7 separate regions of the Homo sapiens genome follow, and regions 2, 3, 4, 5, 6 and 7 are each linked to region 1. Evidence: promoter capture Hi-C in 16 types of primary human blood cells and fetal thymus (Javierre and others, 2016). All regions are on one chromosome and are shown on one strand. Each heading gives the region's core, a stretch centred on a gene start or on the middle of the fragment in contact. The rest is flanking DNA. Distances are from core to core; before and after follow the strand shown.

Region 1 (3,065 bases), core at 197-2,696:
AAATTCTGTATACAGTAAAATAGTAACATTTATTGCGTCTAAAATGCCAGTTTCTATGCTAAGCACTTTATATATATCATGTCATTTAATCTTTACAGATCCCATTATTATCCTCATTTTAGTTAAAACTTACAAAAAGTTGTGGGACATAATATGTGCTTCTTTATTAACCTATTAAGTAACAAGTGGTCATCTAATAACTGCCATAATTTTGACGTGGTATTGAGTATAGATAATATTTTGAAACGTGCAACAAGTCATGTGATATAAAGATATCGGCAATATTTACAGGGGGCAAATCATAGCTACTGCTAATACTACTGTGGCTTTTGCCTACATTCCATTTCAGAAGTCGGTGAAATAATAATTTTTTCCACTCAAGTTCACAGACATCCTGAATTCTATCCATGGATACCTTATCGTGGACTCCCCAGGTTAATAATTCTGGCCAAGGTACTTAATACGCTGCCATATTTTGCAAGCCTCTAGGGAATCAAGAGAAAACCAGGCCAATACTTTATTTTGAATGGATTCTAATGTAGCCTCTTTTCAAGCTTTTGCAAAGAAACCTGAACTATGTAAGGAGATGGGGCAGGAGTTGTTTTCAGTATGCAGCATTGAGAGAAGTGTTTAAGAGTTTTATATCATTAAAGAGGCTCAGCAATATTAGGTTAGCGACGTTTTCTAATCCATTATTATTTAGGCTTTAAGGGCCTGAAGTCGAGTTGAATCTTGTTGAAAGACGGGGTAAAAGGATACAGGCGGGTGAGAGAGGATGCCCCTGAGTTTTAACGTCTGCATACAAGAGTCGCTAAAACTTACTCGCACGTAATTAGTTCAAATATTGGAAATCGTCTTACAGCACACTATAATTTACCAAGATGCTTATAACTGTATACACACACACACTCTACAGAGAATTAGACAATTAGCAGTTTCAATAATGAATACAGAGTCAACGACAAGAAAACAGGGAACATTTTCTCTTCCTTTGAGGAAATGCATGTTGCCTACTGAGCTATTCTTCTGCCTCTCCTTCTGATGTCAACGCAGAGCCAGAGCCATTTATGGCAGGTGCCTTGAGCCCGCCTAGAGGTCCCCTTTGGAATACTGCAGCGACTCAAGGATCCTGGTCAGCCCTTATTGGCCCCAGCTGGTCCTTTGGATGCTCGGGTGTGGGTGAAGGAGCCTCGGCCCCTGGAAAGGAGGGGACCGACTCTCTCCGCAGGTAGCGACGTCGCCTGCGGCCGGTCGGGGGTGGGTATTGGGGAGACCCCTTTACCTGGCGTCGAGAGGACCCCGGCGCCCCTGCTGCCATCCAGGTGCGAGGACAGCTCTGTCGCGCCCGCGGGAAGGACCGGCGAATCCGCGCGGGGGTCTCGGCGAGGACCGCAGCGGATGCTCCGCAGCTCCCGCACCGGCCTGGCGGGTTTTGTGGTTAGCAAGTTCCTGCTTCCGTCGCAGCGACGGCAAGTTTGCCGCGGGGGAAGGGCACGTTCCTGCCCTGCAACCCGGAGCTGCTTCCCGGCAACATTAGCGCGTCCCTCCCCGCGGAGGCTCCGGGCTCCCGGCCCCAGCGCTGAGCCCCGCAGGGAGGTGGCTCCCCCCACCGCCCCGCGCTCCCCCCCAGCTCAGCCACACCGCTGACCCCGGGCTGGGCGCGCTGCGAGGGGGAGTGCGTGCCTCCCTGCTGGTGGCCCGAGGGTCTGCAGGTGAGCCTTGCCTCGCGGCCCGCGCAAGTTAAAATAAATGCACATGGGGAAAATGTCAAACAGTACAAAAATAGACACAGAGACAAGTCTACCCCTCACCCCCGTGCCCCAGTCTCCTAGTCTCCCTCCTCAGAGGCAACCACTGAGAGCAGTTTTTTGATGTTCAAGGGCTTATAGTGCATCCTATTGGGGGCATAGTTCTGAGAATCCTCTTTCCATAATTGGAGGATGGAGTCCTCAATTAAAGATGGCAATTCTTGAGTTAAATATTATCTGCAAGACAAACTTCAGGGAAGGTATTTGGCTTTCTGCGGGATTTATTGTTTGTAGATAGGATAATAATGGTGAAAATGCTGGTGTCTGTAACATATATTAAAACTGTATCCCTAACACTTAGCATAGTGCCTGGTACACAATAGGTGCTCAGTAAATATTTAACTAAAATATTTTTGTTGACTGAATGAATGGAAAAGAACTGCATAGGGCATAGGTTGTGGAAGTTTCTAAATTACTGCTGGCCCCATCCCCACCTCCATAAACACACACACAAATGCAACGTTACTAAACCATTGACACTTAGTTTGCCATATGGTCTAACCTTTGACAGTATCTTCACCTCTGTTTTGAAAGAGCTTGCAGACCTGAAGCGCTATGCAATTGCAAGTTAAGTCTAGGCCTGTACGGCCAACAGCTACACACCCTAGTCTTAACCAATAACTACAGGAGGATTAGGTTGACTGAGAATGCTTGTGAACAAAGGTCCATTGTGTGAAACTAACTCTACTTGTAACCAAAGGATGACTCTTGAATTACAATGTTGCTAAAGCTAGGTTTGAAAGAGTTACCAAAGAAAAGTAAACACCAGAGTAATTTCCCATTGCAGTGATTTTCCTGATGCAACAAGGGACTGATCTGCAAGTGTGTTTTATCTTTTATCATCTGATACACTTCAGGGTTCAGGGTGTAGAGCTATCACAGTTTTTGAATCTCTCTACATGGGGTAATCCATGCTAGTTACAAAGTAGACCTTTCCATTATTAGAAACTTCGTATTCGGTGCTTTAATACAATGAACCTGTTTCTTTTTTTGTTTTGTTTTGTGTTTTGTTTGTTTTTAGAGACGGAGTCTCGCTGTGTTGCCCAGGCTGGAGTGCAGTGGTGTGATCTCGGCTCACTGCAACCTCCACCTCCCGGGTTATAGCAATTCTTTTGCCTCAGACTCCTGAGTAGCTGGGACTACAGGCACATGCCGCCACGCCCAGCTAATTTTTTTCTATTTTAGTAGAGATGGGGTTTCACCGTGTTGCCCAGGCTGGTCTCGAACTCCTGAGCTCAGGCAATCCGCCCGCCTCGG
Region 2 (3,065 bases), core at 202-2,701, 490 kb after region 1:
TGAGACTTTGGACAAGTTGTTAAACCTTCCTGTGTTTCAACCTTCTTATCTGAAGACACACAGTTATAGTACAGCATTGTGAAGTTAAATGAACTATACTGTGGCTCATGATAACAATCAGTAAGTGTTAGTCATTATAATGATCATTAATTGTGGCTTTTAGCATAGATGAAGACTGGCAGCGTACCCAGATCATACAGCTGGTAAAGGGCTAAGTAAAAATTTGAAGCCAAATTGGATTCCAAGCCTCTGCCCTTTACACTAAATACACTGTTTGTTATGTGTGTGTGTGTGTGTATGTATATATGTGTAATTCCATATTACTCATGCAGTATGTTCCACACAACAAGTAAGTACTATGCAAATGAACTTTCAGGTTCCAAGCTATTTTCAAATTGGCAACAGGCAGGTAAGAAAATAAGACATTCTTGTTTTCACCAGTAGATGGCAGAAGGAAGAAAAGACCACTCCGGAGAGGGAAGGAGTTTTAATTTGGAGCCGAGTGATTCACAGTGGGCTGTGGCTGAGGCACAGGGGCAGATGAGGCAGACTCCTTGTATGACTACAGTGGAGGACAGTCCCACTGGAACTAGGGGTCAGGGGTCAGGGTGGGGAGGAGAACTACCTACAGGTATGTGAAGGGTGTCAGCCTTCAAGAAGATCTGCTAGGTTGACCCAGAGGATGGGGACTGGGAGCCCCGAAGTAAAGGCAAGTTCAGATGCACTTAGAAAAAAAGGTCGCGTTCCTCTGTCGTCTCTACTGCGCGGTCCCTGGCTGTGGACCCTCCTCGTCAACTTCCAAACACTTGGTTCTTTTCCAAAGCCTGCCTTTCCCTCTGGGATGTTGATGAAGCCACTTGCTTTGTTTGCTCCTTTCCCCACCCCCTACCCCAGTCTGTAAGTCAGGAATACTCTTTCCCCCGCCTATCCCAATACACGTTGTTTGTGAGCCACCGACCCCCCTCACTGCTTCCCTCTCTCCTCACTGCGTATCCATCCAGTAGGCTTGGTCCACAGCCCGTGCTCCTGTATCAAATAAGCTTGGTGCTGGGTAACCTGTGAGCTGCTTGTTCGTTCATTTTATCCTAGAGACATGTCCTTCAGCCCAAAGTGATGGGGAGTTGTCCTTCTGGGTCCAAAAGAGTAGTAGCAGCAATCAAGCATGGTGGTCATTTATACTGGGCCAGCTCTCACTGATGTGATGCTGGCTCTTGTCCTCACACATTCTTTTGGGGGAGGAGTCCACTGGTAACTCCTGATATCTTAGAAACTCTCTTACCCAAGCTATTAAATCCAGTGCCAACTTAAAACCAACATCCCTGTCGCGATTTCTGGGTGGGTCAAGAGTGGGGACTATCCAAAGATTTCTTATTTGACATACGTCTATTTGTACATTTGTAATGGTTGTTGGTTTGGTTTTAAATAAGTGATTCTTGGACAGGGCATGGTGGCTCATGCCTATAATCCCAGCACTTTGGGAGGCCAAGGTGGGAGGATTGCTTGAGGCCAGGAGTTTGAGACCAGCCTGGGTAACACAGCAGAACCCCATCTCTACAAAAATAATAAAAAATTAGCTGGGCATGGCGGACCCCGCCTATGGTCCTAGCTACTTGGGAGGCTGAGACAAGACAATCATTTGAGTCTTGGAGGATGAGATTGCAGTAAGCTATGATTGTGCTGCTGCGTTCTAGCCTGGGTGACAGGGTAAGACCCTGTCTCTAAAAGGTAAATAGTAAATAAGTGATTCTTTACAATAGGGCTGAGGAGAGCCTCCTGTGTGTTAGGAGTTTGCCAGGTGACTGGCATATATTATTTCTTTTACTGGAGGTCATGAGTCATTTCTCGAGGAAACTGCAGATCAGAAAAGCTTGTTTGTCATATTTTAAAACTGCAGCCTAGTCTTTTTTTTTTTTTTTTTTTTTGAGACAGAGTTTTGCTCTTGTTGCCCAGGCTGGAGTGCAATGACGTGATCTTGGCTCACCGCAACCTCTGCCTCCCAGGATCAAGGGATTCTCCTGCCTTAGCCTCCCAAGTAGCTGGGATTACAGGCATGCACCACCATGCCCGGCTAATTTTGTATTTTTAGTAGACACGGGTTTTCTCCATGTTGGTCAGGCTGGTCTCAAACTCCCGACCTCAGGCGATCCGCCTGCCTTGGCCTCCCAAAGTGCTGGGATTACAGGCGTGAGCCACCACACCCGGCGCAGCGTAGTTATTCTTTATTCTGTCTTCCGTGATTTCTTAAATTCATCCAAGGGTATTCAGGAATTTTGCAGGGTGAGCCTATGCTGACAAAATGAAATTGAGCACCATAGTTTTGTGTTTTTTACTAAATCTCCAGAAAATAAAAGTGACCTTTGGACTGCCAGAAGATTCACGTGAAACCTCACATAAAATCAGCATGTGAAGACAGAGAGGATGTTGGTGATCACCAGAATCTGTTCATTTTTCCTTTGAAGATACTTAAAGGAAGTATGTGTATGTTTACAGGTTTGTATATGTTTTAGAGTGTGCCCACAAGCTCTTAGCCATTTAAGACAGACACTAAAGACTCCCTCAATTAAAAAAAAAGTTCAGTGGAATTTTGTTCATAATATCTGCCTGAGAAAAAACAGGCCCTGCTTTTCAGTCTTGAAGACTGAAGGCTCCTTTTTGAGTAGAGTAGTGGGGGCTGGGTGCAGTGGCTCATGCCTATAATCCCAGCACTTTGGGAGGCCGAGGTGGGCAGATCATTTGAGGTCAGGAATTCGAGACCTGCATGGCCAACATGGTGAAACCCCGTCTCTACTAACAATACAAAAATTAGCTGGGTGTGGTGGCTCGTGCCTGCTAATCCCACTACTCGGGAGACTGAGGCAGAAGAATCACTTGAACCCAGGAGGTGGAGGTTGCAGTGAACCGAGATCATGCCGCTGCACTCCAGGCTGGGCAACAGAGTGAGACTCCATCTCAAAAAAAAGAGAAGAGTAGTGGGAGTAGTTAGGCGACAGAAGTATGCTTTAGAGAAGGCTGGCTAGCCTAACTCATTTTCCTAATAAATGCCAGTGATGCCCCTAACCAGGCAC
Region 3 (3,065 bases), core at 361-2,860, 470 kb before region 1:
GTTAATTTTTAGGTAATAAATTTCAAAAAATGTAACAGGGACACTCAGCCTCTCTTCTGGTAATTATGCCCATGACACTGTCATTTGCAGGCCTTCTTTAAAATTCCACTTGGGCAGTTAAAAGAACATAAAATGACTTTCTTAGAAGCTTTCCTGAAATTTAAATTAACCACAATCATTAAACATTCCCTATGTCAATAATTTGACTTTCCTACTCAAAGTTTTTTAAGGCATCAGTTTTGTCTAGCGTGGTTTTTTTCTTTAGAAACCATGTTGGTTATGTGTGAATTGCCCATCTTTTTACAATCTCTGCTCAATAAGTTTATACAATGAGTCTCTGGTAAGAGACAGACGTGGGAGTGAAAATATTTCTCCTTAACCACAGGAAGGGATTTTTTACAATGCCTTTAGCTGCGGATACCGAGGGTACCTCACCCAGCAGGAAGGAGAGGGAACTATACTTGGGCTAAACACTTTCATAAACTACTTCTCATGGAAAAGAAAATCCAAATAGTGGAAATTTCTTTAAAATATCCATGTGCCTTGAGATAGAAGAAAGCCCTTTCGTTTAAGAAAAATGCACTTAAAATTAATGAATACCTTGTGATCCAAAAACATTTTATACATATACGTTCAGGTGTTTTGAAGTGGAGTGAACTTCTATTTATAGAGTGTGTTGCGCTTTATTATATAGTATTATGCATTTACATTGATGATCAAAGAACATTGTATCTGTGCAGGCATGGGTTCCGAAAAGGCTGAAAAATTCCAGGTGAGCCGTGGCAACAACCTCTAAAGGATCTAGGAACCTAAAGAGGATCTGCCTTTTATTTAATAGAAATCTTAGAAACAAAAATAACTGACATGGCTTGAATGTCAATTGTTTAAAAAAAAAAAAAAAAAAAGGAAAAAAAATCTATTGTGTGGTCAGGCAGTTATTTTTATCATCTAGGCATAATTTTTACCAAAGAAACAAAACAATCAATAATGTTATAAAAGCCACTTATACTCTGAGCTTGAAACAACTGCTTTATGCCACAAAATTCCTATTGCTGTCTCCGTTAGTGACTAATTCAATATGTCCTGAATGTCAACGTATTTTTATTACTCAGCTAAAGTTGGCTTTGCTGGATTAAATGTCATTTAAAATGATCAATTGGCAGCTTGTTTGGGGTTGTTTTCACATTTATGAAAGGAAAAGTTTGCCGGATACAAATGTTCTTGAAGCTGATAGGGAAACGGTGTTCTCTGGTAAGCCCTGCCCTTCCTTTTGCCATCTGATAAGTAGATAACATTCTAGGTCCTAGTTTGATGCCTCCGAAAAACCAACATGGCAGCCCAGTGCAGGTTAAGCCCTTACATTGGAGAAATGGTCTGGTTCACGTTTCACTGTTTTATGAGAAGTAGAATGTACCATTACAGTAAAAGAGAAGCAACAGAAACATGCAGTGAAAACGCCCATGCTTGTGGTTAGAGAACTGTCCGCTTTCTTTTTGCTCTACAGTAGGCTTCTGAGTGGAGTGCCTTCCGCCTAGAGTCAAGAGGGCTGCCATGATGTCACCCACCTTCATATGGGCAAAATGTCTTTATATGAAACTGTAAAAGACAACCAGGTCGTTTCTTAATTGCTGAAATTTATTAAAATGAACACACTAGAAAATCACATTCCCAATCCAGAGGAATCCAATGGCGTCGTCAGCCTATTTGCAATGGAAATGATTGTAAACCTATAGGGAGACATAGGAGGGGCTGCACACAAACTACTTTCGTTCGTCCTGATTTACTGGCTTCTTTTCCCCCTAGAGATACAGTCTCACTCTGTCACTCTATCGCCCAGGCTGAGTGCAGTGGGTTGATCATGGCTCACTGCAGCCCCAAACCCCTGGGCTCAAGCAATTCTCCCACCTCAGCCTCCCAACTAGCTGGGATTACAGGCATGCACCACCACGCCTGGATAATTTTTAAATTTTTTGTAGAGATGAGGTCTCGTTATGTTGCCTGGGCTGGTCTTGAACTCCCGGACTTTCAAGCAAGTCTACTGCCCCTGCCTCCCAAAACAAACATTGGGATTATAATTATAAGCCACCACACCCAACCCTAATTTACAGGCACTGTATGTGATAATATGTGATTTTGTCAGATGTTTTCCAGTTGGAAGAGATTATGGAAAATTAAAATGTGTCTGCCATTTGATAGTAGGACAAATACTGAAATATTAAGCCACAGCTGAGTTCTGGCCTTAGTCCTTTTGGGGCTGCTCTGACAAACTGCCGTAGACTGGGTAGTTGGTACGCAATAGATACGGATTGCTCCACAGTTCTGGGGGCTGGGGAGATCAAGGCCCTGGCAGATGAGGCATCTGGTGAGGGCCCACTTTCTGGTTCATAGACAGCACCTTCTTGCTGTGTCTTCACTTGGTGGAAGGGTGAGGGGTCTCTCTCAGGCCTCTTTTAAAAGGGCACTAATCCCACTCACAGGGGTGGGGCCCCCAAGACCTAATCACCTCCCAAAGGTACCTTGGTAGTTAGTTAGGATTTCAACAGATGAATTTGGGGAGGACATGAAGATTCAGACCACAGCAGATCTCTATTTTCCCTTTATAGAGAAAGTAATTCAAGACAAGGAGATGCTTACAAGGGAAAAAGACACTTTGCCACTTTTTACTGCTTTGCTTAGAAACTAGAATCATCCTCCTTCAAATGCCTGTAAAACGAGCTAGATTATTCTCAGTCTGCAGTAGGACACTGATTTCTCAAGGTACTTAAGATGCTTGGGTTGCTCATCTTCTCCACACCCCCACCTCAGCCCATCCCCTGGCAATACAGAATGCAGCCATGGCAAGACGGGGTGGGCAATAGAAGTGGCTGGACAGCTTCTGTTGTTAGAATGGGGTTCAAAGTCCAGGACTATGGTGTTGTTGTTTTAAGAAGGAGGCCACTTGTCCTTTTCCAAAACACAATGAGTGACACACCACATTAATGTTTAAACACAGATAATACAGAAGAAAGGATTCCATAAGGGATACTAAAGATTTAGGGCTGCTGTACATTTAATGGTAGTTCCTT
Region 4 (3,065 bases), core at 338-2,837, 440 kb after region 1:
ATTCCTGTAGTAACAAGTGTCCTTTTAGTTAATTGCAATAAATCTCTTGTTGAGTTGACAGGAGGTTGGGATGTTACTTTTTGCTCCTGGCAAACTCATAAGAGGGAAAGTAAACCCTGCTGTGGTCTGGAATAGGACAAAGAGTGAGCCCTTAGATCTGAAAACAATCTCTTAGCAACCAGAGAGCTGTTAGGAGAGGGGAAATCGTGCTGATGAAGCGAGACCCATCGTCCAGGAATGCACATTAGGGGTCCTCAGCACCCCCAAACCTGACTAGCATTAGCACCGGGTTGTGGAGAGAAGGCCCTCTAATGTGGTCTTTGCCTGCACGCATAGAGATTATCTATATGAAGCTACATCTGCAGAAAATGATGTTTAATCCAATTTTGTATTTACACTAAAACCCCAGAGGTGGGAGGACAGGCAGGCCTGTGACCTGATTCCCCCTGAGCTTTAGCCATGGGTCACGGCCAAGGCATCTGCCTCCCTTACACACAGGAGCAGCCAGATCCTGGCCTCCTCCAGCATTTGTGTGAATACGGTTGCCAAATTCACCAAAATAATTATAACTGGGAGAAGCTACACAAAAAGGGTAGGGGTGATGTCTAAAGTCTTTCTTTTAGGCGAAACTTCTTTTTCTACGCTCCCCGGTTGATAAGCAGACATTTCTTTCTGCCCTCACTTTTTATTAAAACTGCACTCTCAAAATATCATTTAAAAACAATATTTTTTTCAGTGCTTAAATAAAATGACATTTCAATAATATTGAACATACATGTGGGATATTTAACAATAACAATAGCTAACATTTATTGAGAACTCACTAGATACTCTTCTAAGTACGATTTGACCTGTATCATTTCATTTACCTTACAAAAATCTTATGGTGTGCACACTATAATTACCCTATATTATTAGATAAAGTAAGGAATTTGAGAGGTTGCATTGCCAGCATGAGGTGCCCCAGAATTTGAATTCTGGCAGCCTGACTCCAGAGTTATGCTCTTAGCTATTCTTTTCCTTTTTTTTTTTTGGAGTCTTGCTCTGTCACCCAGGCTGGAGTCCAGTGGCATGATCTCAGCTCACTGCAACCTCCGCTTCCTGGGTTCAAGCGATTCTCCTGCTTCAGCCTCCTGAGTAGCTGGGATTACAGGCGCCCACCACCATGCCCAGCTAATTTTTGTGTGTGTGTGTATTTTTAGTAGAGATGGGGTTTCACCATGTTGGCCAGGCTAGTCTTGAACTCCTGACCTCAAGTGATCCACACACCTTGGCCTCCCAAAGTGCTGGGATTACAGGCATGAGCCGCTGTGCCCATCCAATGCTCTTGGCTTTTCTGATTTTTTTTTTTTAGACGGAGTTTTGCTCTTTTCGCCCAGGCTGGAGTACAGTGGCATGACCTCAGCTCACTGCAACCTGTGCCTCTCGGGTTCAGGCGATTCTCCCACCTCAGCATCCTGAGTAGCTGGGATTACAGGCGCCCACCACCATGCCTGGCTAATTTTTGTATTTTTGGTAGAGACAGGGTTTTGCCATGTTGGCCAGGGTGGTTTTGAACTCCTGGCCTCAGGTGATCTGCCCATCTCAGCCTCCCAAAGTTCTGGGATTACAGGTGTGAGCCACTGCGCCTAGCCAATCCTAGCACCTTGGGAGGCCGAGGCAGGTGGGTTGCTTGAGTCCAGGAGTTAGAGACCAGCCTGAGCAACATGGTGAGACCTCATCTGTACAAATAATTTTTAAATGAGCTGAGTGTGGTGTTGCACACCTATAGTCCCAGCTTCTCAGGAGGTTGAGGTGGGAGGATCACTTAAGCCCAGGAGGTCGAGGTTGCAGTGAACCGTGATTGGGCCACTGCACTCCAGCCAGCCTGGGGAACAGAGCAAGAACCTGTCTCAAAAAAAATAAAAACATCTCCTGGCAGTAACAGTCTCATCTAGGATGAGTAATCTTATGCCAGTAGGCTAGTCAATAAGAAAAAAATAAAATATAGCTTTGCAAGTCACTAGTATTTATAATAAACAGTGTGGGTGTGATTTGAAAGTTATAAAACTTTTGCTCTGATCATAAAAACCTATGTATGGGTTTTTATGGTGGCTGGGCACAGTGGCTCACACCTGTAATCCCAGCACTTTGGGAGGCTGAGGTGGGAGGATCAACTGAGGTCAGGAGTTCAAGACTAGCCTGGCCAACATGGTGAAACCCCGTCTCTACTAAAAATACAAAAATTAGCTGGGCATGGTGGCAGGCACCTGTAATCTCAGCTACTCGGGAGACTGAGGCAGGAGAATCGCTTGAACTCAGAAGACAGAGGTTGCAGTGAGCTGAGATCACGCCACTGCACTCCAGCCTAGGCGACAGAGCAAAACTCTGTCTCAAACAAAACAAAACAAAGCCTATTTACAGAATAATATTTTGTGATGCTCCCCCAAATCTCCCAAACATGGCAAAATTCTGGTGAACAAAACACCTGAAGAGGAAGGACATGATTTATAAGAACTTTTTGCTAACTGTAGATGCGCTGGAACTGAAGTTATCAGTAGAGATGACACAGACATGAATGAAGGAATTACTGGTCGAACAGGCCTATCTAGATCTGATTTTAAAACCTCAAAAAATGAAACTTCTTGGGGTCATTCCATTGAAACTACTACTGACCCTGCTTGTCAAATTTCTTCCTGTTGGGGTGTGTACTCAATTGCAGTCTAGTAGCTTATGGACTAAAAGTGTTGGAGGTATGTGGGTGAGTAGATAGGTATGAATAGGAATAAGATGTTGGGTATCATAAACTATTCAAAATCATAATGCTTTGTGGTTGATTTGAATTTAACATTGTCCCCTGAGGTTTTGCATAGCAAACACAGTTATTTAATTTTAATTCTTTCTAACTTCTCTGTAGCATTTGACTTTGCTGAATACCCAATTCTTTTTCTTTTCTTTTTTTTTTTTTTTTTGAGACGGAGTCTCGCTCTGTCACCAGACTGGAGTGCAGTGGTGCGATCTCGGCTCACTGCAACCCCCACTTCCCGGGTTCAAGTGATTCTCCTGCCTCAGCCTCCCAAGTAGCC
Region 5 (3,065 bases), core at 418-2,917, 420 kb after region 1:
CTCTAAAAAAGAAAAAAAAATTATATGAAAAACACAACTTACCAAATTTGTGGGATGCAGTAAAAGCAGTGCTTACAGGGAAATTTTTGTAGCATTGAATGCGTATATTTGAAAAGAAGAAAGATCTAAAAATCAATAATCTAAGCTTCCACCTTAGGAATCTAGAAAAAGAAGAACAAATTAAGTCTAAACTAAGTAGAAGTGGCCAGTTATGGTGTCTCACACCTGTAATCCCAGCACTTTGGGAGGGTGAAGTGGGAAGATTGCTTGAGGCCAGGAGTTCAAGAACCAGGGTGGGCAACATAGTGAGACTTAGTCTCTACAAATAAATTAAAAAATTAACCAGGCATGATGGTGTATGCCTGTAGTCCAGCTACCTAGGAGGCTGAAGTGGGAGAATCACTTGAACCCAAGAGTTTGAGGTTACAGTGAGCTATGATTGCATCACTGTACTCCAGCCTAGGTGACAGACCGTGTCTGTTAAATAAATAAATGAAAAGTAGGAGAAAAGATTATAAAAATCAGAGGAGAAATCAATGAAATTAAAAATAGGAAATCAAAATCTGGTTCTTTGAAATGATTAATAAAATCAATGAACCTCTTCCCGACTTAATACTTCCTATAAAGCTACAATAATCAAGACAGTGTGGTATTGGTGAAAGACTAGAAAAACAGACCGATAGAATAGAATGGAGAGCCCCAAAGTGAACCCACATAAATATAGACAATTGACCTTTGACAAAGGAGCAAAAGCAAGACAATGGCGCAAAGATAGTCTTTCAACAAATGGTGCTGGAAACCTGACATCCACATGCAGAAAAAAATGAGTCTAGACACAGATCTTACACTCTTCACAAAAATCAACCTAAAATGGGTCACAGACCTAAGAGTAAAACATAAAACTATAAAATTCCTAGAAGATAACAGGAAAAAAATCTAGATGACCCTGGACTTGGTGATTACTTTTCAGATACAACATCAAAGGCACAATCCATGAAAGAAAGAATTGGTAAACTGGACTTTATTAAAATTAAAAAATGTTACTCTGCAAAAGACACTGTGAATTGAATGAAAAGGCAAGCCACAGACTGGAAGAAAATATTTGCAAAAGACATATTTGATAAAGGACTGTTATCCAAAATATACAAAGAACTCTTAAAACTCAACAATAAGAAGAAAAAGAACCTGGACGGGTGTGGTGGCTCATACCTGTAATCCTAGCACTTTGGGAGGCCGAAGAGGGTGAATCACTTTGGGTCAGGAGTTTGAGACCAGCCTGGCCAACATGGTGAAACCCCGTCTCTACCAAAAACTACAAAAATTATCTGGGTATGGTGGTGTGTGCTTGTAATCCCAGCTACTCGGGAGGCTGAGGCAGGAGAATGGCTTGAACCCAGAAGGCAGAGGTTGCAGTGAGCTAAGATCACACTGCTGCACTCTGGCCTGGGTGACACAGCGAGACTCTAACTCCAAAAAAAAAAAAAAAAAAAAAAAAAAAAGAAAGAAAAGAAAAGTAAAGAAAAGAAAAGAAAGAAAACAAGGAACCTGAACAAAAAATGGGCCAATGACCTTAACAGGCACCTCACCAAAGAAGATATTGGTGGTAAATAAATATATGAAAAGACGTCCCAAATCATATGTCATCAGGGAATGCAAATCACAACAGCAATGAGGTACCATTACATATTGATTAGAATGGCCAAAATCTAGAACTGACGATACTAAATTCCCTGATGAGGATGTGGAGCAGCAGAAACTCTCCTTCATTTCTGGTGGGAATTTGAAATGGTATGATGAGTTTGGAAGACAGTTTGGCAGTTTCTTACAAAACTAAACATACTCTCGTCATAAGATCCAGCAGTCATGTGCCTTGGTATTTACCCAAAGGAATTGAAAACTTATGTCCACACAAAAAGCTACACACAGATGCTTACCACAGCTTTATTTGTGATTGCCAAACATCAGAAGCAACCAAGATGTTCTTCAGTAGCTGAGTGAATAAATGGTGGCATATCCAGACAATGGGACATTATTCAGTGCCAAAGAGAGATGAGCTATCAAGTCACGAAAAGATGTGGAGGAAATTTAAGTGCATGTCTGTAAATGAAAGAAGCCAATCTGAAAAGGCTACATGCTGTGATTCCAACTAATGACATTCTGGAAAAGATAAAACTATGAAGACAGTGATCAAAGATCAGTGGTTGCCAGGGGTTAGGAGGGAGGGAGGGATGAACAGGCGAGGTGCAGAGGATTTCCAGGGCAGGTAAACTACTCTGTATGAGACAGTAATGGTGGATACATGTCATTAAACATTTTTCAAACCCACAGAGCGTACAATACCAATAAGGAACCCTAATGTAAACTGCAGACTTTGGGCCAATGTAGGTTCATGAATTGTAACATAGGTACTGCTCTGTGGGCACTGGCAATAATGGGAGAAGTTATGCATGTGTGAGGGCAGGGAGCACGGGGTGTCTCTGTATGTTCCACTCAATTTTGTTGCAAATCTAAAACTGCTCTAAAAAATAGTCTAACAAAGCAAGTTTGGAGAGGAAAATAGATTACATAAAATCATTTTCTTACCTAATTCAAGAGCAAATAGAGTTGAAAACTCACCATAGAAACTACATTTTTTAAAAAACGATTGGGTACAATGGCTTATGCCTGTAATCCCAGCACTTTTGGAGACCAAGGCGAGAGGATTGCTTGAGACCAGGAGTTCATGACCAGCTTAGGCAACATAGTGAGACTTCATTACTACAAAATTTTCTTTCTTTAATTAGCTGGGTGTGGGGGTGTGCACCTGCAGTCCCAGCTACCCAGGAGGCTGAGGTGAGAGGATTGCTTGAGCCTAGGAGTTCAAAGTTACAGTGAGCTATGATCATGCCACTGCACTCCAGCTTGGGTGACAGGGTGAGACCCAGTCTCAAAAAAAAAAAAAAAAAAAAAAACACAACAAACAAACAAAACTAAATTAATAAAAGCAAATAAGGAGAATAATAATGACCAACTTTCAGGGTGTTAGAAGATACACCCCTTGCTTCATCATATTGCTTAATGTGAAC
Region 6 (3,065 bases), core at 566-3,065, 390 kb after region 1:
ACGAGGTTGCTTTGGCAAAAAAAAAGGAACAATGGATATTACTTTATTAGGACTAGGAGCCACTTTTTATGGCAGGTTGCAACTGTCAAAGGACATTTTAGGGTCGAGAAGCCCCCTTGCAAAGGACAAAAGATGTCCATGGTAAGAAAAGCACGGAAGGCCCAAGGGAAAAGTTTTAAAATGAGCTTTGCCTCTAAGCCTCCTTTGATGCTCACCTCCATATCGATTCAGGCATTTCTCAAAGGCCACCTTCTTCCAAGGTAGATAAGAGGGCCCTGGTCGGCCGGGCACGGTGGCTCACGCCTGTAATCCCAGCACTTTGGGAGGCCGAGGTGGGTGGATCACAAGGTCAGGAGTTCAAGACCAGCCTGGCCAAGATGGTGAAACCCTATCTCTACTAAAAATTCAAAAATTAGCTGGGTGTGGTGGCAGGTGCCTGTGATCCCAGCTACTCAGGAGGCTGAGGCAGAGAATTGCTTGAACCTGGGAGGCGGAGGTTCCAGTGAGCTGAGATCGCGCCACTGCACTCCAGCCTGGGCGACAGAGCAAGACTCCATCTAAAAAAAAAAAAAAAGGCCCTGGTCAGGGTCTCACTCTGTCACCCAGGCTGGAGTGCAGTGGCATGATCTCGGCTTACTGCAGCCTTGACATCCAGGGCTCAAATGATCCTCTCACGTCAGCCTTCTGAGTAGCTGGAACTACAGGCATGTGACACCACCCTGGCTAATTTTTTGTAGAGATAAGGTTTTGGCATGCTGCCCTGGTCTCAAACTCTTGGGCTCAAGTGATCCTCCCGCCTTGGCCTCCCAAAGTGTTGGGATTACAGGCGTGAGCCACCGCGCCCCGCCATGGTCAAAAGCTTTATCTTCGTTAATCTTGGTTGAGCTGGTTTCCCACTTCCTATATCATTTGCCTGAAAGGGGAGACCCAGCTTACTTTGGAGGTAGGTGTAGGTAGATAAGAGCCAAGTGTTGTTTGCTAATGTATTGAGTGAGGGATCTCATTAAAAGGTCATTTTATTTGTGCAATCAAAGAACTCCTTTGGAGCCCAGTATGGTGTCACACACTTGTATTCCTAGCTACTAACGAGGCTGAGATGGAGAATCTCTTGAGCCCAGTCAATCACTGATGCCAGCGTGGGCAACATAGTGAGACCCCATCTTTAAAAAAAAAAACAGGTGTGATTAATGTTAAGCACCTTGAGATGAGGAGAGCGGTTTGGATTATCCAGGTGAGCCCAATCTAACAAAATAAATCCTTAAAAGCAAAAGCAGAGGGCCTTTCCATCTGTGGTCAGAGGAATAGGTGACTATGGAAGAGTGGTTGCTCCCTTTCCCTTGTCCCTGCTTTGTTTTCTCCACAGCACTTCTCACTCTGTGGGAGGCACAAGAATGCCCCCCTCCAAAGAGATACACATCCTAATCCCCAGAGCCTATTAATATGGTATGTTATATGGCAAAGGGGGGATTAAGGTTGCAAATGGAATTGTTTGCTGATTTGCTGACTATAAAATTGGGAGAGTATCTTGGATTATCCAGGTGGACCCAATGTAATCACAAGGGTCCTGAATCTTGGAAGAGGAAAGCAGAAGAGGGATTCAGAGTGGTGTGACGTGAGGGCTTAGCTTGCTGTTGCTGGCTTCGAGGATGGAGGAAAGGGGCTAGGAGCCCAGGAATGCAGCAGCCTCCAGAAGCTGGAAGAGGCAAGGTAAAGGATTCTCCCCCAGAGCCTCCAGAAACAAATGCAGCCTTGCTGGCACCTTGCTTTTAGCCCAGTGAGACCCATGTTAGACTTCTAGCACACAGTACTGCAAGATATTAAATTGATGATGGCTGGGCGTGGTGGCTCATGCCTGTAATCCCAACACTTTGGGAGGCTGAGGCTGGTGGATCACTTGAGGTCAGGAGTTTGAGACCAGCCTGGGGAACATAGCAAGACTGCGTTTCTACTAATAAAAAATTAGCAAGGAACGGTGTGCACCTGTAGTCCCAGCTACTCGGGAGGCTGAGGCAGGAGGATCACTTGAGCCTAGGAGATCAAGGCTGCAGTGAGCTATGATGGCACCACTGTACTCCAGCCTGGGCAATAGAGCCAGACCCTGCTTAAAAAAAAAAAAAAAAAATGGCTGGCTGTGGTGGCTCAGGTCTGTAATCCCAGCACTGTGGGCGGCTGAGGTGGGCAGATCACCTGAGGTCAGGAGTTCGAGACCAGCCTGGCTAACATGGTGAAACCCCATCTCTACTAAAATTACAAAAATTAACTGGGCCTGGTGGTGCACACCTGTAATCCCAGCTACTCAGGAGGCTGAGGCAGGAGAATCGCTTGAACCTGGGAGGCGGAGGTTGCAGTGAACAGAGATCGCACCACTGCACTCCATATCAAAAAACAAAGAACTGCTTGGTTTCTGATTTCTCAGCTCTCAACTCTAGGCAGGTGATTTATTTGTCCACTTAAGAGATGGGAATTGGACACTGCCGCTGGGATCAGTTCTGATCCTGACTATAAATTTCCGGGGTGCTCTGCCTTAGAACTTGGTTTATTGCCTATTAAGCTGCTTTCCTGTTGCCTGTGCTCAGTGTCTGTCTGGCTCCTGGCCTCCTCTTGCCAGGTGATTTGGCCTCATTCTGAACCTGTTTTATGTAGAGTGTCTGTCTGCCCGACTTCATGGGGCAGATCACAGAACAAGATCCCTGTGCCACGATCTGCTTTCCCTTCACCAAATATCACTATGAACTTGTGCCTACCTGGATCCCATACTTGCTTCACCCTGACAAAGCTTTTTCTTCTCTCTACTTCTGGCCTGCTTTGAATTTATTGTTTTATGCCTGTGTGTTAGAGGGAAAAATGTATTAAAATAATGTACTGGCAATACCTCCCTTCCTGTCTAAAAAAAGTGAATGCTTTGTGTACTCATCTCCCTAGAGGGCCTTTGTTGAATTAAGCAGGGTGATTGGCTGTGAGGAGAATTAAAAGGCAGAGAGAAGACCAAATTGCTCTACCCAACACAAAATGAGGAGATATTTGAAAGAGAATTTTACAAGGAGAAGACTGAAGAAGGCCGGGCG
Region 7 (3,065 bases), core at 163-2,662, 370 kb after region 1:
TCAAAAAAGTAGCAATGGGGAAGGCTGGGGATACGGTAATTCCTCAGAGTTTCTATGCCCAGAGATACTTTCTCTTCAAACTGTTGACCAGAGCAGCTACTTGTAACCCAGGCCCCATCGGGTAGGAAGGTCGTTTCCCTGTGAGTCCCACTAAAACGTGTTGGGAGCAATAGGTTCTTTGCCCATCCGAACAAGAACTAGGGTACTCCCTCAGTCCGAATTAATGAGAATTAATTTCCTAGAGGTTCAGCTTGAGTCGGTAACAGATTTTGAGCCATACATGGAAAAATGGCAAATACATGATTAAGTTTCAATTTTGAGGGGGAATGTTTGGTAGAAATTGCTCATCTTTGGTTATGCAAGGGATTAGAGATGTGAATAGGATGGTATGTTGTGTTCTTTGACATTTTAATAAACTGTCACTTTCCCTGTTGTCTCCTAAGTTTGGAGAGAGAAGGAACCAGTATTTGCAAAAACCAAATGGAAAGATAAAAAAGTTACTAAAGTTTCTACAGAATTTCTGGTAACACTGAAGTTGCAAAGCAGAAGTTAAATTAACTCTTGTCAGTAAGCAATCCAGGAACACGTCAGCCAGTGTATGCTAATTGTGCCGTAACAGGGTGATTTGGATATTTGTAGGGGAAATGGGTAGTAAATATCAAGACTGGTGACCGTAGGTCAGCCCAGCACAAAGGAAGTGGAGATTTTTCCATGCACAAGAATCTGATCACTGTAAATAGCTAATTTGAATAATTCAGTCCCCAGATAACCAACATGGGTTGGTTATTCATAATAAACTACATATTTTAATAGTTTATTAGCTTCCTTTAGACCAAGACTGTGACCTCTTTATTTTCTAAAGCACACACGTAGTTTAGCATATGAGGCGATAAAATATTGATGTTAACTTTTTAAATCCCCAGTTATAAAAATTTTAAAATAACAGGGATTAAGGTGAGATTCAGGTTTGTTGTGTCTTTAAATTGTATATGTGACTTCACATATCTTTTTCAGCGCTTATACAAAACGGCACTATAGAACCTCCATTTTACAGCACCATATGAAGTGGGAAAATTAGGTGAAAATTTTCCTGAAGCAACCTTAACATGCGCAGCCCTTGTTGGTTTGTGACTTGTGGCCTAGCTCATCAGATGAGCCACGAGAATCAGACCTGGATTTTGATCTGGCCCTGTTCTGACATGCAATGAGGCATTTGTAGGATTTAGTAATATTGCTAGTTCAAAGAATACTAGAAATATTAGTAAGAACCTATTCAAAAGTATTCATGAGTATTTTCTGCATATGAATCAGGAATTAGAATATTTTGAAAATGATGTTAATAAAATTTTCCTCTGGAAGGCCTTTATAATTTTTATTCCCAATCATTTTTCAAATTTAGAAAGTTTAATCTGTCACAGGAGAAAAAAAATTAAAAATTTTCAAAAATTTAGAAAATTTTTACCCGTAAGTATTACAGTTTCCTAATTATCCTATTTATTTCCCACTTGCCTTTGACCTAGATTATTTAGAGTAGGGTTTCTCAGCCTCTGCACTAATGACATTTTGGGCCGAATAATTCTGTTGTAGGAGGCTGTCCTGTGTGTTTTAGATTGTTTGGAATTATCCCTGGCCTCTCACACTAGATGCCAGCAGTATCCTCCTCCCCCAGTGTGACAACCTAAAATGTCTCCAGACATTGCCAAATGTTCCCTGTGGGGCGGGGGCAACATTGCCTACTGTTAAGAACTACTGCTCTAGACCAAAGAACACAGCACAGAGGAAAGGAAAAAAAAATCCAGTTAAGAGAATGTTAGGTGGAGATGACTATAGTCATCAAACTTTTTTCCCCATCAAGTATTTCCAAGCTAACATAGTGACAAAATAATTCCTGTACTCTACTGGTAACGTTAATCTAGTGCTCTTCCTTTAATTCTTCCGTTTTGTTTTCTTTTGCAGAATTAAGAATATGTTTCCTTGTTTATCAGATACATCACTGCTTGATGAAGCAAGGAAGATATACATGAAAATTTTAAAAATACATATCGCTGACTTCATGGAATGGACATCCTGTATAAGCACTGAAAAACAACAACACAATAACACTAAAATTTTAGGCACTCTTAAATGATCTGCCTCTAAAAGCGTTGGATGTAGCATTATGCAATTAGGTTTTTCCTTATTTGCTTCATTGTACTACCTGTGTATATAGTTTTTACCTTTTATGTAGCACATAAACTTTGGGGAAGGGAGGGCAGGGTGGGGCTGAGGAACTGACGTGGAGCGGGGTATGAAGAGCTTGCTTTGATTTACAGCAAGTAGATAAATATTTGACTTGCATGAAGAGAAGCAATTTTGGGGAAGGGTTTGAATTGTTTTCTTTAAAGATGTAATGTCCCTTTCAGAGACAGCTGATACTTCATTTAAAAAAATCACAAAAATTTGAACACTGGCTAAAGATAATTGCTATTTATTTTTACAAGAAGTTTATTCTCATTTGGGAGATCTGGTGATCTCCCAAGCTATCTAAAGTTTGTTAGATAGCTGCATGTGGCTTTTTTAAAAAAGCAACAGAAACCTATCCTCACTGCCCTCCCCAGTCTCTCTTAAAGTTGGAATTTACCAGTTAATTACTCAGCAGAATGGTGATCACTCCAGGTAGTTTGGGGCAAAAATCCGAGGTGCTTGGGAGTTTTGAATGTTAAGAATTGACCATCTGCTTTTATTAAATTTGTTGACAAAATTTTCTCATTTTCTTTTCACTTCGGGCTGTGTAAACACAGTCAAAATAATTCTAAATCCCTCGATATTTTTAAAGATCTGTAAGTAACTTCACATTAAAAAATGAAATATTTTTTAATTTAAAGCTTACTCTGTCCATTTATCCACAGGAAAGTGTTATTTTTCAAGGAAGGTTCATGTAGAGAAAAGCACACTTGTAGGATAAGTGAAATGGATACTACATCTTTAAACAGTATTTCATTGCCTGTGTATGGAAAAACCATTTGAAGTGTACCTGTGTACATAACTCTGTAAAAACACTGAAAAATTATACTAACTTATTTATG

The links. The method cuts DNA at HindIII sites, captures the fragments that hold promoters and counts their contacts. A CHiCAGO score of 5 or more calls a contact.
Region 2: a contact is called between a fragment that was not itself captured here and the fragment with the promoter of MANSC1 in region 1, in 1 of 17 cell types (activated CD4 T cells). The highest score is 5.3, in activated CD4 T cells.
Region 3: a fragment that was not itself captured here is called in contact with the fragment with the promoter of MANSC1 in region 1 in 1 of 17 cell types (M1 macrophages); the score reaches 5.4 in M1 macrophages.
Region 4: a fragment that was not itself captured here is called in contact with the fragment with the promoter of MANSC1 in region 1 in 1 of 17 cell types (activated CD4 T cells); the score reaches 6.6 in activated CD4 T cells.
Region 5: a contact is called between a fragment that was not itself captured here and the fragment with the promoter of MANSC1 in region 1, in 5 of 17 cell types (naive B cells, activated CD4 T cells, non-activated CD4 T cells and 2 more). The highest score is 6.1, in naive B cells.
Region 6: a contact is called between a fragment that was not itself captured here and the fragment with the promoter of MANSC1 in region 1, in 16 of 17 cell types (total CD4 T cells, naive CD8 T cells, total B cells and 13 more). The highest score is 15.1, in total CD4 T cells.
Region 7: a contact is called between a fragment that was not itself captured here and the fragment with the promoter of MANSC1 in region 1, in 15 of 17 cell types (neutrophils, erythroblasts, activated CD4 T cells and 12 more). The highest score is 12.8, in neutrophils.

Annotation. Positions count from the first base shown.
Region 1 is chr12:12,348,796-12,351,860 of GRCh38, forward strand. MANSC1 (MANSC domain containing 1) reads right to left here and starts at 1,447. Exons shown (of 4, transcript NM_018050.4): 1 at 1,283-1,447. RefSeq lists a silencer at 1,448-1,757. The HindIII fragment of the contact is 5,175 bases long and covers 553-3,065 here.
Region 2 is chr12:12,836,733-12,839,797 of GRCh38, forward strand. No RefSeq gene overlaps it. Among named protein-coding and RNA genes, the nearest start is that of DDX47, 25 kb to the left of the region's middle. The HindIII fragment of the contact is 827 bases long and covers 1,039-1,865 here.
Region 3 is chr12:11,879,147-11,882,211 of GRCh38, forward strand. The region is part of intron 5 of ETV6 (ETS variant transcription factor 6); the gene reads left to right. Among named protein-coding and RNA genes, the nearest start is that of BCL2L14, 190 kb to the right of the region's middle. The HindIII fragment of the contact is 2,928 bases long and covers 147-3,065 here.
Region 4 is chr12:12,792,195-12,795,259 of GRCh38, forward strand. No RefSeq gene overlaps it. Among named protein-coding and RNA genes, the nearest start is that of APOLD1, 8.1 kb to the left of the region's middle. The HindIII fragment of the contact is 8,759 bases long and covers 1-3,065 here.
Region 5 is chr12:12,773,076-12,776,140 of GRCh38, forward strand. It overlaps a transcript of APOLD1 not described here. Among named protein-coding and RNA genes, the nearest start is that of MIR613, 10 kb to the left of the region's middle. The HindIII fragment of the contact is 3,048 bases long and covers 144-3,065 here.
Region 6 is chr12:12,742,204-12,745,268 of GRCh38, forward strand. It overlaps a transcript of APOLD1 not described here. Among named protein-coding and RNA genes, the nearest start is that of MIR613, 21 kb to the right of the region's middle. The HindIII fragment of the contact is 1,917 bases long and covers 858-2,774 here.
Region 7 is chr12:12,719,080-12,722,144 of GRCh38, forward strand. CDKN1B (cyclin dependent kinase inhibitor 1B) reads left to right here. Exons shown (of 3, transcript NM_004064.5): 3 at 1,957-3,065. Among named protein-coding and RNA genes, the nearest start is that of CDKN1B, 3.2 kb to the left of the region's middle. RefSeq lists enhancers at 343-422, 493-542. The HindIII fragment of the contact is 2,899 bases long and covers 1-2,862 here.